Linked DNA regions of Homo sapiens: all the other regions are linked to region 1. Evidence: promoter capture Hi-C in 16 types of primary human blood cells and fetal thymus (Javierre and others, 2016). All regions are on one chromosome and are shown on one strand. Each heading gives the region's core, a stretch centred on a gene start or on the middle of the fragment in contact. The rest is flanking DNA. Distances are from core to core; before and after follow the strand shown.

What was found. Contacts are between HindIII fragments. The CHiCAGO score rates a contact against its expected background, and 5 or more counts as called.
Region 2: a fragment that was not itself captured here is called in contact with the fragment with the promoter of CDH16 in region 1 in 1 of 17 cell types (total CD4 T cells); the score reaches 6.0 in total CD4 T cells.
Region 3: a fragment that was not itself captured here is called in contact with the fragment with the promoter of CDH16 in region 1 in 8 of 17 cell types (non-activated CD4 T cells, naive CD8 T cells, total CD8 T cells and 5 more); the score reaches 7.6 in non-activated CD4 T cells.

What each region holds. Positions count from the first base shown.
Region 1 is chr16:66,916,246-66,920,666 of GRCh38, forward strand. CDH16 (cadherin 16) reads right to left here and starts at 2,640. Exons shown (of 18, transcript NM_004062.4): 1 at 2,559-2,640; 2 at 1,776-1,833; 3 at 1,397-1,480; 4 at 29-184. The coding sequence starts at 1,820. The HindIII fragment of the contact is 16,817 bases long and covers 405-4,421 here.
Region 2 is chr16:67,259,947-67,264,367 of GRCh38, forward strand. SLC9A5 (solute carrier family 9 member A5) reads left to right here. Exons shown (of 16, transcript NM_004594.3): 13 at 4,406-4,421. LOC124903701 (a long non-coding RNA gene) reads right to left here. Exons shown (of 3, transcript XR_007065092.1): 3 at 2,449-4,421. Among named protein-coding and RNA genes, the nearest start is that of SLC9A5, 13 kb to the left of the region's middle. The HindIII fragment of the contact is 3,362 bases long and covers 844-4,205 here.
Region 3 is chr16:67,222,962-67,227,382 of GRCh38, forward strand. It overlaps TMEM208 (transmembrane protein 208), which reads left to right and starts at 4,169. Exons shown (of 6, transcript NM_014187.4): 1 at 4,169-4,263. The coding sequence starts at 4,258. It also overlaps the pseudogene FBXL9P. RefSeq lists an enhancer at 3,972-4,321. The HindIII fragment of the contact is 1,538 bases long and covers 1,092-2,629 here.

The DNA.
Region 1 (4,421 bases), core at 1,390-3,889:
CTCTCCCCTACACCTGGCCCAGCCATACCTGTAGCTGGTACTCTGCCTGCTCCTCTCGGTCCAGGGCCCTGGTCACCAGCAGGAAGCCAGAATCTGGATCCATAGCAAATGGGCCCTCAGTTGCCTTGCCTGAGTCCCCTGACAGCACGATCTGGCCTTCAGCCCCCTCACGGGGCAGCGGCAACTGATGGAAATGAACAGAAGTGAAGGGAGCGGTGGCCAGGCCTGGGAGATGCCCCTCCTCCACCTGATGGCCTCATTTTACATGTGGGGAAACTGAGTCTCAGAGACATCTGGCTCCTGTCAGAGGTCACACAGCCAGTAAGCATCAGGACTGAGACTCAGAGCCAGAACTCTTTTCCCTGGACCTGATGCTCCCCAAAACTCTCTGCCCTTCTTTCTGAAGCTTGAAACCTCACCACCGAGATTTCGTTCTTTAATCTAAAGCTCTGCTCTCCACTAGGATTAAAATCTGTTAGTCATTCCCACTGCAGGTTGAGCATCTCTAACCCGAAAATCTGAAATCTGAAATACTCAAAATCTGAAACTTTTTGAGCGCCAATATGATGTGACAAGTACAGAATGCCGCATCTGACCTCATGTGACAGGTCACAGTCAACACATAGTCAGAACTTTGTTTCATGCACAAAATCATTAAAAATATTCGCCCAGGAGCAGACTCACACTGGGCTCTTGGCCACTCAAGGATTCTGTCGGAATTTCACCTCTGTACTGTCAGCTCCTTCTGGCCATAGCCTCCCCAGCTCGCAAATCCCAAAGTGGTAATCCCAGCACTTTGGGAGCCCAAGACGGGCGGCTCACCTGAGGTGAGGTGTTCAAGACCAGCCTGGCCAACATGGCGAAACCCTGTCTCTACTAAAAATACAAAAAAAAAAAAAAAAAATTAGCCAGGAGTGGTGGTGCATGCCTGTAGTCCCAGCTACTCAGGAGGCTGAGGCAGGAGAATCTCTTGAACCCAGGACGTGGAAGTTGCAGTGAGCTGAGAACATGCTACTGCACTCCAGCCTGGGCGACAAGAGCGAAACTTCGTCTCAAAAGAAAAAAAAATGTATAACGTTACCTTCAGGCTATGTGTATAAGATGTATATGAAACATAAATGAATTTCCTATCTAGATTTGGGTTCCATTCCCCAAGATATCTCATGATATATATGCAAATATTCCAAAATCTGAAGAAAAAAAAAAATCCAAAATCTGAAACACTTCTGGTCCCAAGCATTTCAGATAGGGGACACTCAACCTGTGTAACGTGTACATACTCTCTGGAAAGCAGGATTTCAAAGAGAAACAGCAAGAGGAAGGGTGCCAGAGGAAGGAGAAGCAGGACTTTGCGGGGAGGGATCCCCCCGGCCCCAACCCCAGCTCTCCGGCTCACCTTGGTCAGGTATAAAGGGAAATTTCCACCATAGTTTTCTGGAACTTCCACAGACAGCTCTGCAGGCTGGGCCTTGGGGAGAGCCTGTGGGAGGATTCTCACCTTGTCACCAGGCTCTATCTTCCTGCGTGGGCACTGAGACCCAACAGAAGAGCGGAATTTCCGCCCCTTCCCAGGGCCTGGCTGTACCTTAGTCCATCCACCCGCGCTCTGGTCTTTGACCTCCTCATCCCACAGTGGCTCTATAGTCCCAGCTCTGACCCCTCCCATGCCTTGCACCGTTCTCACGGTCAGTGCAATTGGTCCAGGTGGAGTTGGGGGCAAGGGTGTCAACCCCCAAAGCCAAGACCTGAAGGAGAGGGGGCAGGGCCTAGCTCACCTGGGGGACGGAGACACAAAGCAGCCACAGCCAGGCAGGGACCATGGTCAGGACAGGCCTGAGGGACACGGCAGTGAGGATCCAGCCCAGGTGGGTAGGGAGGGGCTTTCCATCCCACACACACAACTAGTGGGATCGTACTGCAGACTAGTCTTCTCTTCCTCCCCTCCAAAGGAGCTGAGGCTCTCCATCTCCTGCAGGGTAGTGCCCTGCTCCTCGGCCAGGCCCACCAAGGCCCCCAGGCCCAGCCACCCTGCTTCTAGGCTCTTGGTCCATCAAGCACTCTATCAGAATTTCACCTCCAGACCTCCAGCTCCTTCTCACCATAGCCTCCCCAGGCCGCAGATCCCAAAGTGGTAATTTTCTAGCAATCCCCCAAATCACAAAAGTTTGAAGCTGGAAAGTTCCTGAAGACTTGGAGGGTCACTTCCTGAAGTCACCTCTTGTTGCAGGCAAGGCCTGAATGCTGGGGTCTGGCCAAGGTCACAGAGGACTTGACCACAGGAGGAGTCCTCCTAGCTCAGGGCCTCTGGGACTGTCCTGCCTCCCACTGCCACCTTCTAGACAAGGAGAACCCCCGGAGCAGGAGCCCGGCCCTTGTCTCATCATTTTCCAGCCCTTGTCATGGAGCTGGGCAGGCAGAGCAGCGACAAATCGACAACCCCTCTAAGATGAGGCCCTGGGAATTCTTTCCCAGATGGCGAGGACAGGGCAGTGTTTCTCCTTTCCCCACCACCAACCTCAGCCTCAGCCATGCCCTCCCCTCCACTCCCAGCCCCTCACCCTCCAGCGCCCAAGACTGGCTCCCTTGGTCCAGCTGCCAAGCAAGAAGAGAGCTCCTTCTCCAGGGGGCTCTGGCCAGGCTGGGCTGGGTGGGGCAAGGCAGGGCACTTGAGCAGGTAGGAGGGTTCAGCCACGCTTGCTCAGGAGTGGAAAAGGCCACTGGGCCCACAGCAGCAGGCCTGGCCCCGCCCAGCCCCCCAAGTTACTCATTGACTTTGGAAAGCCAGGAGCTGCTCAGCATCCGTGACTGCCAGCTCCAGGAGGTGGGGAGATGGTTGGCCTGGCACTCCCTCGACCCCAGCACAGCCCAGGAGGTATTCCTTGGCCCTCTGGTTCTGGACGTTACTTTTTCTGTGGCTCCAGACTTGGTCTGACTTATCTCCCAGGCTCCAGTGTCTGCAGCCACACCTTTTCACACTCTGTTCCTTTTGCATGGAACACCCTTCCCACTCATTCATCTGTGTGGTAAGCACCTGCTCATGCATGCTTCAGTGCTCAGCTCAAATATTCCTTTTTCCAGGAAACTTCCCCTATGTTCCCAGGCTTGTTCAGGAGCCTCCTCTGGGAATGCCCCTCCCCCTCACACCATGCCATGTGCTATCTCTATTAATACACAGAGGACACCAGCTTGTCATTGTCTGCCTCTTCCATTAGATTGGGAGCCCTTTGAGAGCAGAACTCAGGGACTCAGGAATGACCTGGCTCTCATTCTGCCCTGGCAGCTCCGCATGGCTTGTGGAACTAAGACAAGGAGCTGGAGGTTGCAAAGGATGGGTGAGCAGTACATGAGTGGAAGTGGGTATTGGGGCTCCAGACCACCCCCCCCAGGGGGACCTGTGGTGGGGGAGTGCAGCAGCCTATGAGCTCCCGAAGTCCTTACACTGGCCACTCAACAGTGACAGGGCTGAGACAGTGGGCAGTCTCATGCCCCTAAGAAGATTAAACTGGCTCAGGTGACCTTGAGGGAGTTGCAGGGCTGAACAGGGGCTCTCCCCGCAATGAGGGCAGCCAAGCAGAGCCAGGAGATGCTTCTGGGGCCTGGGAGTCTGGAATGAGGGGAGAGGGTGGGAAGAAGGTCTCCAGTCCCTCTCCAGCCTTGGAGCTTCCCATGGTCCCCACGAAGTCCTTCCCACTGTACATCTGATTAGTCTCTCTCAGGCCAGAAGCTACCCCCAGCTGCCCCCAGCCTTGTCACAAGCTGAGTGCCTGCTTCAGGGTCACTCTGGCACCCAGCCTGGAGCAGTGTAGTGTGGGGAGGTTGAAGGGGGTTTCACACGTGTTAAGCTCCTGCTCTGTGCCCAGCACTGCTCTGAGCACATACCTTCATTATGCCACATACTGCGTTCTGAAGGGGCATTGGGCACATGCTGGGGCACAGAGAAGCTGAGTGGTTTGCCTAGGGTCACACAGTCAATAAGTGACAGAGCCAGGAAGGCCTGGGGACCCTCACTTGATCTGAAAATACCATGCCTTCTGCATTCCTTGAAGTATGTGGGGAGGAGGGGCAGAGCAGCAACAGCTCTGAGCAGTTACCTCTGCCCTGGGGAGCACGTGGGTGAATCTCAGCGCTCCCCTGTACATGGAGGGGCAGCCCTCAAGCCTCCTCCTGCCATTCAATAAGCTGCAATCAGGATTCTAACCAGGTTGCCAGGGCTCCCTGGAGTCTGTGGAATGAATAAATTGAATAAATTGAACTAAGGAAGGAATGTATGGACCTTGGCCCAGAACCTTCTTAGAAACTGCCCCCCACCTTGCCCCAGGCTGCCTCCAGGCTTTGGAGATGGGCAGACCTGTATACCAGTCCCCACTCAGCCACTTCCCACCCAGCACCAGATGGGGATGGTTTTTCCTGAGACCATGTAG
Region 2 (4,421 bases), core at 1,275-3,774, 340 kb after region 1:
GTGAGAGCAGGCAGGCATCAGGATTTTGAGGGGGTGGAGGTGGTCTGAGGAGAGCTTAAGAGGCAGTTGGCGCCAGCTTGTTGGAGAGCTGCAGATGCCCAGCTAAAGAGTGTGGGTTTCAGCCGGGTGCGATGGCTCATGCCTGTAATCTCAGCACTTTGGGAGGCCAAGACAGGCGGATCACTTGAGGTCAGGAGTTTGAGACCAGCCTGGCCAACATGGTAAAAATGAAACCCCATCTCTACTAAAAATACAAAAATTAGCTGGGTGCGGTGGCACATGCCTGTAATCCCAGCTACTCGGGAGGCTGAAGCAGGAAAATCGCTTGAACCCGGGAGGCAGAGGTTGCAATGAGCTGAGGTCTCACCACTGCACTCCAGCCTGGGTAACAGAGCAAGACTCCATCTCAAAAAAAAAAAAAAAAAAAAAAAGAGTGTGGGTTTTATCTCATCAGTAATAAGAAACCTCTGCTTTGTTTTTATTTTTTGGAGAAAGGGTTGACCTAATACAAGCACTGTTTAAGGATACCTTCTCTGGTAGCAGAGTGCAGATCAAATTGGAGGGGGTGAGTTGAGAAGCTGGGACAGCCAGTTGGGAAGATGGAGTGAAATATTGTGGATTAGGGCTGAGCGGTGGGAAAGAAGAGGGGCACGTAGGCCTAGGTGATTGGCTCTGATGGTGAGAGGAGGAGGAGACAGAGTACTGGGGGCCTTGAGGGTCACTGGAGAATGATGGAGTCACAGACAGAAGCAAGAGCACTGAGGAAGCCTCCTAGACCAGCTTAGCCTGTGGAAGGTGGGCATCTGTTTTAAATAATGGAAGTTAGTCCAATGCAGATCATGAAGCTTTGCGTCTGGAAAGGCCCAGCTCATCCAGGAGAGAGTCTGTTGCAACCCCACAAGAGGGCAGCAAGCCATTACCTTGCACCTTTCTAAAATGGGAAGCCAGCTGTCACCAGTTCTGGCAGTTTCAACAGTCAAAGCTCTTTCTACTGTTGAAACAGAATTGGCCTCCTTTAACTTGCACCCACTGGTCCTGATTTGACTCTTCGCAGCTCTGCAGAATACATCTTCCAAAATTTCAAGACAGTTCCCTTTCACACAGGCTCTCTTGCCCTCAGGCCAGAATCTCTTACCTCCTGGTATGTCTTCTCTGGACTTAAAAAAACAGCGCCCAGAATGGAAGTTGCTACTCTAGCTGTGGCTGGCCAGGGAAGGGCCTAGAAGCTCTGACACCATTCTAGTTCTAGAACTTGCTATTTCTCTTCCCACAGCCCAAGATCCCTCCAGCCTTGGCTCACCACCCTGGGGCCCCACATTGTCCTTAGAATCTGCTAAACTCCCAGGTCTTCCTCAGTTAATGGCTGGCAGACCCTGTCTCACTGCATCCTATGGGGTTTTTAAAAAACCTTTCTTATTCAAAATTCCAGTAGAACGAATAAAATAACTCATATTTATCTATCAACCAGCACTGAAAAATCAGTGCATGATCAATTCTATTACATTCTGCAGCCCTACCACATCCCTCCCACACTTTATCTTAAAACAAACTCCAGACATCGTATCACATCATCTCAAAATATTTCAGTATGTCTCTCTAGGTGGCAAGAACTCTTACATCCAGTCAGTATTCAATAAATATCTTTTCCCCGCTGGATGTTCAAATCAGGGTCTAAATAAGTCCACACTTAGCATTTGGGAAATATGTCTCTTCATTTAAAAAAATCTATAATAGTTCTTTTTCCCCTCTCTATCTCCCTTGCTATTTATTTATTGAAGAAGCTGGATACTTTCTCTTGGAGAATTGCACATTTTCTAGATTTTGCTGACTGTATTCCAGTGGTGTTGTTTAACATGTTCCTCCGTTCCCTATATTTCCTGGTTGTTAAATCTAGAGGCCTGATCAAATTCAGGGACATTCAATAGGTATGCTATATATTTTCTGTGGTGTCACATCAGGAAGTACATAATGATTTGGTGAGGTGTGTGTGTGTGTGTGTGTGTGTGTGTGTGTATGTGGTGTTTATGTATAAGATTGGTCAATGGGTTCAGTCCAATCGGTTCATGTGTAGTCTGTTTTTTAAAAATCTGGAATAAGTTTGTGTGTATCCTGTTAAATGTCATCTTATTTGCTTTAGCCCATCATCCCATTGTTTGGTTCCCATGTCTGCCACCAAATGTCTCCTTCTTAGATTCATATCATCTGAAAATTTGTTAAGCCTGTTAACTTTGTATTCATCCAAATCCACATAAACATGTTGAACAGGATAGAGCTGAGGACAGAGCCCTGTGGCATGCTACTAAAGACTTTCCTCCAGACTGACATGGATCAAGCATTTTTGGGGTATGGTAACTCAACCAGTTCTGAATCCACTTAGTATGATAACACAATCCACAATTTCTCATGTTCTTCATCGAAATATCATTAGAGAGAGACAGAGATATCTAGTTTTCAGTTAGAAAGATAAGATTATAGTTTAATAGAGAGATAAGGGCTGGAGAGAAATTTGGAAGCAATCTGTATCAGGTTTTGTCACCTGGCTACCACAGAATCCCCTGGGGAACTTCCTGGCTTCACCTGGAGATTCTGATTCTGTAGTCTGGAGTGGGACTAAGAATCTGTGTTCTTACTAAGTTCCCCAGGTGATTCAAATGCAGCTGGTCTGATGACTGATGTTGGGGGACCACAGATCTGTATCACTGGGATAGCTGGGGCAGAGAGAATGGATAAGTTCTCTGAGGAGAGTGTTTCATGGGGCGGGAGGAGGGCTAAGGATAACACTGAGGAGTGCGCATGGGAGAAAAGGAAAGAGAGCCAAAGACAAGGAACCCTTGGAGAAGCAGTGGCAGGTGGTGCCTCAGGCCTGGGGCAGAAAGAGGGCTGGATGCTGCGCAGAGGCCTGGCCAGCACCTAGGCAGAGCCCACAGCACTGGTGACCAGCAAGAAGGCAGCACTGTGGAGTTGTGGACCCTGGAGTTGCATTTCTGGTTTTTAAGGAAATAGTGGGTAGGAGAGAAAGTGTCAGAATCAAATTATAAAAGTGTAGCAGCAAAAGGGAGACAATGGTGTTCAAGGGAAGACTTTCTTTAAGGAGGCAAGGGCAGGAGCTTGAAAACAGAGGGGAGGGAGCCAAGTGGTGAGGTAAGGAGTGAAGATACAGGAGAGTGGAGGAATAGGAGGCAGCAGGAACTGCTGGAGGCAGGAAGGAGGGAACTGAGCAATGTGGAGGCCGGGGCTGGGCAGCAATGAGCCTTGTGAAGGAGATGGACCCCTTCTCCCCAGGAGAGAGGGTACCTCCTGGTGCATAGGTAGATGAGGAGGGCAGATGGAAGACTTGAAGGGGGCTCTTAGAACTGGTTCAGGGAAGCAGAAAATATGAGATAAAGGGACCAGACTTGGGATTTGAGGCAAGATAAGATGATTTGGCAGGCACTGGGAAGCATTTCAGGGGATTACCACTAGATGATGAAAAGGTGCTAAGCAAGGAGGGTAGAGGCAGAGGCAGTCTAGGTGAGTGTGTAGCGGGCTTGGTGTTGATAAGAGTTAAAAAGAGCATGGCCAGGCGCAGTGGCTCATGCCTGTAATCCCAGGACTTTGGGAGGCCAAGGCAGGCAGATCACTTGAGGTCAGGAGTTCGAGACTAGCCTGGCAACATGGTGAAACCCTGTCTCTACTAAAAATACAAAAATTGGCCGGGTGTGATGGCAGGCACCTGTAATCCCAGCTACTCGGGAGGCTGAGGCAGGAGAATTGCTTGAACCCCAGAGGCGGGGGTTGCAGTGAGCAGAGATCGTGCCATTGCACTCCAGCCTGGGTGACAAGAGCAAAACTCCGTCTCAAAAAAAAGAAAAAAAAAAGCAGATGATGGGGGTGATCCTGAATTATTGGGACTGAGAAGGTCCAGGGTGTCAGGGGAGATAGTTATGAAAGTTCAAAGTGCAGCCCAGGATATCATGGTGGTTCTTGTAGAAATGGCTAGATAGGAGATTCCAGCTGGAGAAAGGATCCTGTGTAGCTAGAAGGGGGCAGGTAGGCTGGGTGTGTGGGCGAAGCTCAGATAAATGGAGGTACAAAGAAAATGTCCCCCATGTTGTCACAGTAGTAGAACAAGACAGAGGGTCACCTTCAAACCAGAGAGAATCGGGAAAGGATGGCAAGGGTTGGGGAAGGCCAGGTTTGGGGGAATAAGTTCTGGGATAAAGGGAAGCTTTTCCCAGGGAACTGAGAACACAGGGTCTCTGGCTGGGTTCCTGTTGTATTTTTTGTTTTGTTTTTCAATCCATTGTTAATTCTGGAAAAGCTGGGCTGGCAGGTCCTGTGGTGAATATGTTGGGGCTGTGGCCTGGGGTTCTTGTGGGAGGCCAAGGCATCCATCCTCATAGCCAGGCGGGGCTGTCATTGCCAGTACAAAGCCAGCTGCA
Region 3 (4,421 bases), core at 611-3,110, 310 kb after region 1:
CACCAGGAGAAAGCCAAACTCTGCTGCCTGGCACATCTGCCAGCTTGCAGCCTGATGCCATTCTAGCCTCGCCTCCTGCCATGTCTCACTTAGTTCCAGCCAAATGGAACTTGTGTGATTGGTTCCACACCATGGTGCCTTCACTTATGCTATTACTGATCCCAGAAGCCCAACCTTTCTTCTCATCCTGTTCCTTCAGGAAGCCTTCCCTGACACCACCAGTCTCCTCTGGATGTCCTTCTTCATGTTCCGTCAAACTCTTTTTTTTTGAGACAGAGTCTCGCTCTGTTGCCCAGGCTGGGGTGCAGTGGCGCGATCTCGGCTCACTGCCATCTCTGCCTCCCGGGTTCAAGCGATTCTCCTGCCTCAGCCTCCAAGTAGCTGGAACTACAGGTGCACACCACGCCACCACACCCAGCTAATTTTTGTAATTTTAGTAGAGACAGGGTTTCACCATATTGGTCAGGCTGGTCTCGAGCTCCTGACCTCAGGTGATCTACCCGCCTTGGCCTCCCAAAGTGCTGGGATTACAGGCGTGAGCCACTGCGCCCGGCTGTCCCCGTCGAACTCTTTCTTCCCAGTGTCACAGCGCTGAGCACACGATAGCATGATCATTCATATTACTCGTCTTTCTCCTTCACTGGAATGTGAGCTCCTTAGGGAACTATGTCTTATTTATCTGTATAGCCCCAGCACTGTACCCAGAGCCAAGTATGTATGAATGTATGTATATATGTGTATGTATGAGCATATGAATGGATGGATGGATGGATGGATAGATGGATGGAGATACATGAGCAGGGCCACGAGTAAGCTGAAGTAAGAAACACCTGAGGATGGGACGGGGGAGGGTGGGTGCCTTACCTCCCGAAGGGCATTCTGGGCAGCACGGTACCAAGCCCAACTCACGAGGGAGGCCTCTTTCTGATCTGACAGAGGCAGGAAGCTCAGAATATATGTGAGCATCTGAGGGAAAAAGACAGGGCATTGGGGACTGTTAGAGGTGGGAGGTCTTTGGAACCCACTCCAGCTGACAGCACCATGGGTCTGAGGGCACCAGAGCCCTGGCTTCTACTTTATCTTGGATGTGAAGCTTCACGAAGCATTCACTTCCCCGCTCCAGGCTTCAGGTATCTTTCCTGTAAACAAACCTTTCCTGAGCTGGGTGCAGGCTTGCACTGACTGATAAGAATCAAACTTCCTGCCTAGCTGGGTAGAAAAAGCCTGGGCATTGAGGCCAGATAAACCTAGTTCAAATCTCTACTCTGCCAACTGACCTCTCGAACTTTGTTTTCCTTATCTGTGAAATTGCAATTGTAGTGAGATTTAAATGGATTATTGTGAGAATTAAAGAACACAGCCAAGTGTCTTGCATAGGACCTAGAGCACAGCAGGCCAGGTGTGCTCACTCTGGTCCTCAGGAAGTCATGCTTGGTCCTCCTGCCCTCATGGCTCAGGCTCTGGGACCCTGCTGTTTTTCTGTCTTCTTCACTGCCACCTTGCCCTCTCCACTGGTTGTTAAGATGCGCTCCCAGCAAGACCTAGCCTGGGAGGCTCAGGCCCTTCCCCCCACCTAGGGGGTGGTGAGGTTAGAGGTCCTAAATGGGACTGGGGAAGGGGTTACCAGTGAGGCCTAGAATGATTTGATATTAACTCTTCTTTTCTTCTGGAATCTTCCTCCCTGCATCCCAATTGTCTCGTTTTTGGATTCTTCTGTGGCTCCCAGGGCTCAGACCTGGGTCTTTTGGTTTTCTGTTTACCAACACAGGAATAACCAACAATTCAATATTCCCATATTGTCCTATTATCCAAGTGCTAGTCCATATTGCCAACTGTCCATGCAAATGTTTAGCCATCACTTTAATCTCAACCAAAACTCATGTTCTACCCTCAGCCCAAAACAGCCTCTCCTCCCAAATTCCCCTTTCAATGCCAACAGTGCATCTACCTGATAACACTTTCAACTATTCAAACCATTCTGTCCCTTCCTCCCAGATACAGGTGTAATGCACAGGCTTTAGGCCAGGCTAACCTAAACTCATTCAAATTCCAGCTCCACTACTTCCACATATACTGATGTGTGACCTTAAACAAGGTACTTGACCTCTGGGAGTTTCAGTTTCCATATCTATAAAATAGGGATACTTTAAAAAAATCTAGATCATAGCCTCATGGGGATTAAATTTTACATATATATAGTGTGTGTGTGACAACTAGATGTTCCATAAATGGTTGCTGGATTGCTGTTACTAAAATTTCTACCTCTGCAACTTCCCCACCTCAGTAGCTCAGATTTCTACCACCCCAAACCTGGATTCCTTCCACAATCTCCCACCTGAACTCTTTGCCTCCAAGTTCATCCTTGCTAATACATTATGCACACTGTCACAAGGTTAATTTTTCCTATAAAACAGTTTTCAGTTTCAGCTCACCCCTGCTGTAAAACTTCAGGGTTCACAGTACTCTCAGGACAGTCTCCACTCCTGGATCAGCACTGCCAGGCCTCTGTGCCTGATTGGACTCGCTGGTCCCCAAACTTCCCCAGTCCAGTCTCCCCATTGCCCTACGCACACAGCATGTCTATTTCCTTTTGCCTATGCGGGCCTTTTCCCTGGGATCCCCTTCTTGAAGCTTAACTTCACCAACCCATTGTGATCTCTCCTTCCTTTCTCAGATGCCAAGCACGCAGGCACAGTGCTCAGCCAGTGCTTACTGGATTAAATTAAGGTTGGACAGTCCAGTCCTCTACCTCTATTTTCACCAAGAGTATGCTCAGGGAAGGGGTCGGGGAAATAAAGCAGTCATTACTGAGAGGACAATGACTGGCAGAATAGACTTCTGGGCCAGGAAGGGAGGCATAGGGAAGACAGTATTGATGGGGACTGGGACTGACCAAGTCCCAATCCCTCCAGGGAGGCACGGAAGCCTGTTTGAGCTGAGTTAAGACAGTGGCCATCCTGTCTTCTGGGGCTAAGCAGCCAGCCCAAGAGCAAAGGGAGAGGGGAACAAACCTGTCATCCCTTGGGGTGAGTCGGGAAGGGACACAATTCATTGACCTAAGAAGAGGGTGGCCTTTCTAGAGGGACAAGAGGAGGCAGTGATGAGGATGGAGTGACCATCCCATGAGTCCCATCTCAAGGGGGCTACTGGAGATAATGATTGGTCACTCATGGGGTCTATGGGGATGGAAATAGATAGCCCCTAAAGCTAAGGGGGAAAGGGATAGCACTGCAAGCTCAATAGGGGTGGGAACAGGCCTATTTTTGCTAAGGACAGGAGCATCATTCCAGGACCGATGGGAAAGGGTGGCCTGTTTCCCATGGGCAGAGAGAGGGGGCTGCCAACCCTCAGGACAAAAGAGATGGAGAAGCCATTCCAACAGGCCACTGAAGACAAAACCTGTTATCTCCCTGGCAGATGGGGCAGAGTGGTCTTGCCCCTGGCTAAGGGGAAGGAGCAAACATCCCACGGAGTGAAAGAGGTAAGGGCGGCCATCACTAGGGGCCTAGGAATGGGGAACAGGCCTATCCTTGTTAAAGGAACTCAGAGATCATTGCAGTTGATGGGGAGGGAGCAGTCTGTTTCCCACTGCCAGGGAGAAGGGGCGGCCGTCTCTGTAGGAAATGGAGAGATCATCCCAAGGGACCAATGGGGATAAGATCAGTTACCCTTCGGGACGATGAGATGGAGCGGACATCTTCCAGAACTGAGCGGGGAGGAGACAGCCACTTCAAGGGAAGGGGATGGGCAGAGGGCCTGTTCTCGCGGAGATGACAGGGCAGCTATCTTCTGGGGCCGATAGGGAAGGGGAGGACGGTCCCCCAAGCTAAAGGGACAGAGTGGCCCAAAGGAGGAACCGTTACCCAGAGCTAGAAGGTCCCGGGATCGGGAGGGCGGGTCGTTTCCGCCAGGCTGGAGGGGCCGGGCTAGCTATCTGACAGCCCCTCCCCAAAGCTCAGGACCGCGAGGGCGGGGCCTGTCCAGAGCTAGGCCTGAGGGCGGCTTCCTCTCACCTCCAGGGGCAGCGACTCCGCCATCGCATCCCTGCCGCCTCCGCCCCCACTGCGCAAGGCTTTCTGGGAAATGTAGTCTCGCCTCTTTGGGGCGGGGCTTGGGAAGGAAGTGAGACCTATTTCCGTCGCAAAAGCTGACGACTTCGGTCTGCGCCGGAAGTGCATGAGCTGCCGATGTGGTGCTTAGTGATTGCGGTTTCGGTCGCTCTCCCGTGTTTCCCGGGCTGGGTATTTGCCTCGCACCATGGCGGTAAGGAGGATGGATAGGGCGGGGTCCGCACCAGCAAAGCTCTCCAGGGGCTGTGAGAGTGAAAACTGAGAAAGAACATTAAGGGATATGGGGTGGGCCAGAGCGGGGCGCCATCCCTGGCCAGACCGTGCTAGAGCTGGGCTGGGGGGATGGCGGCG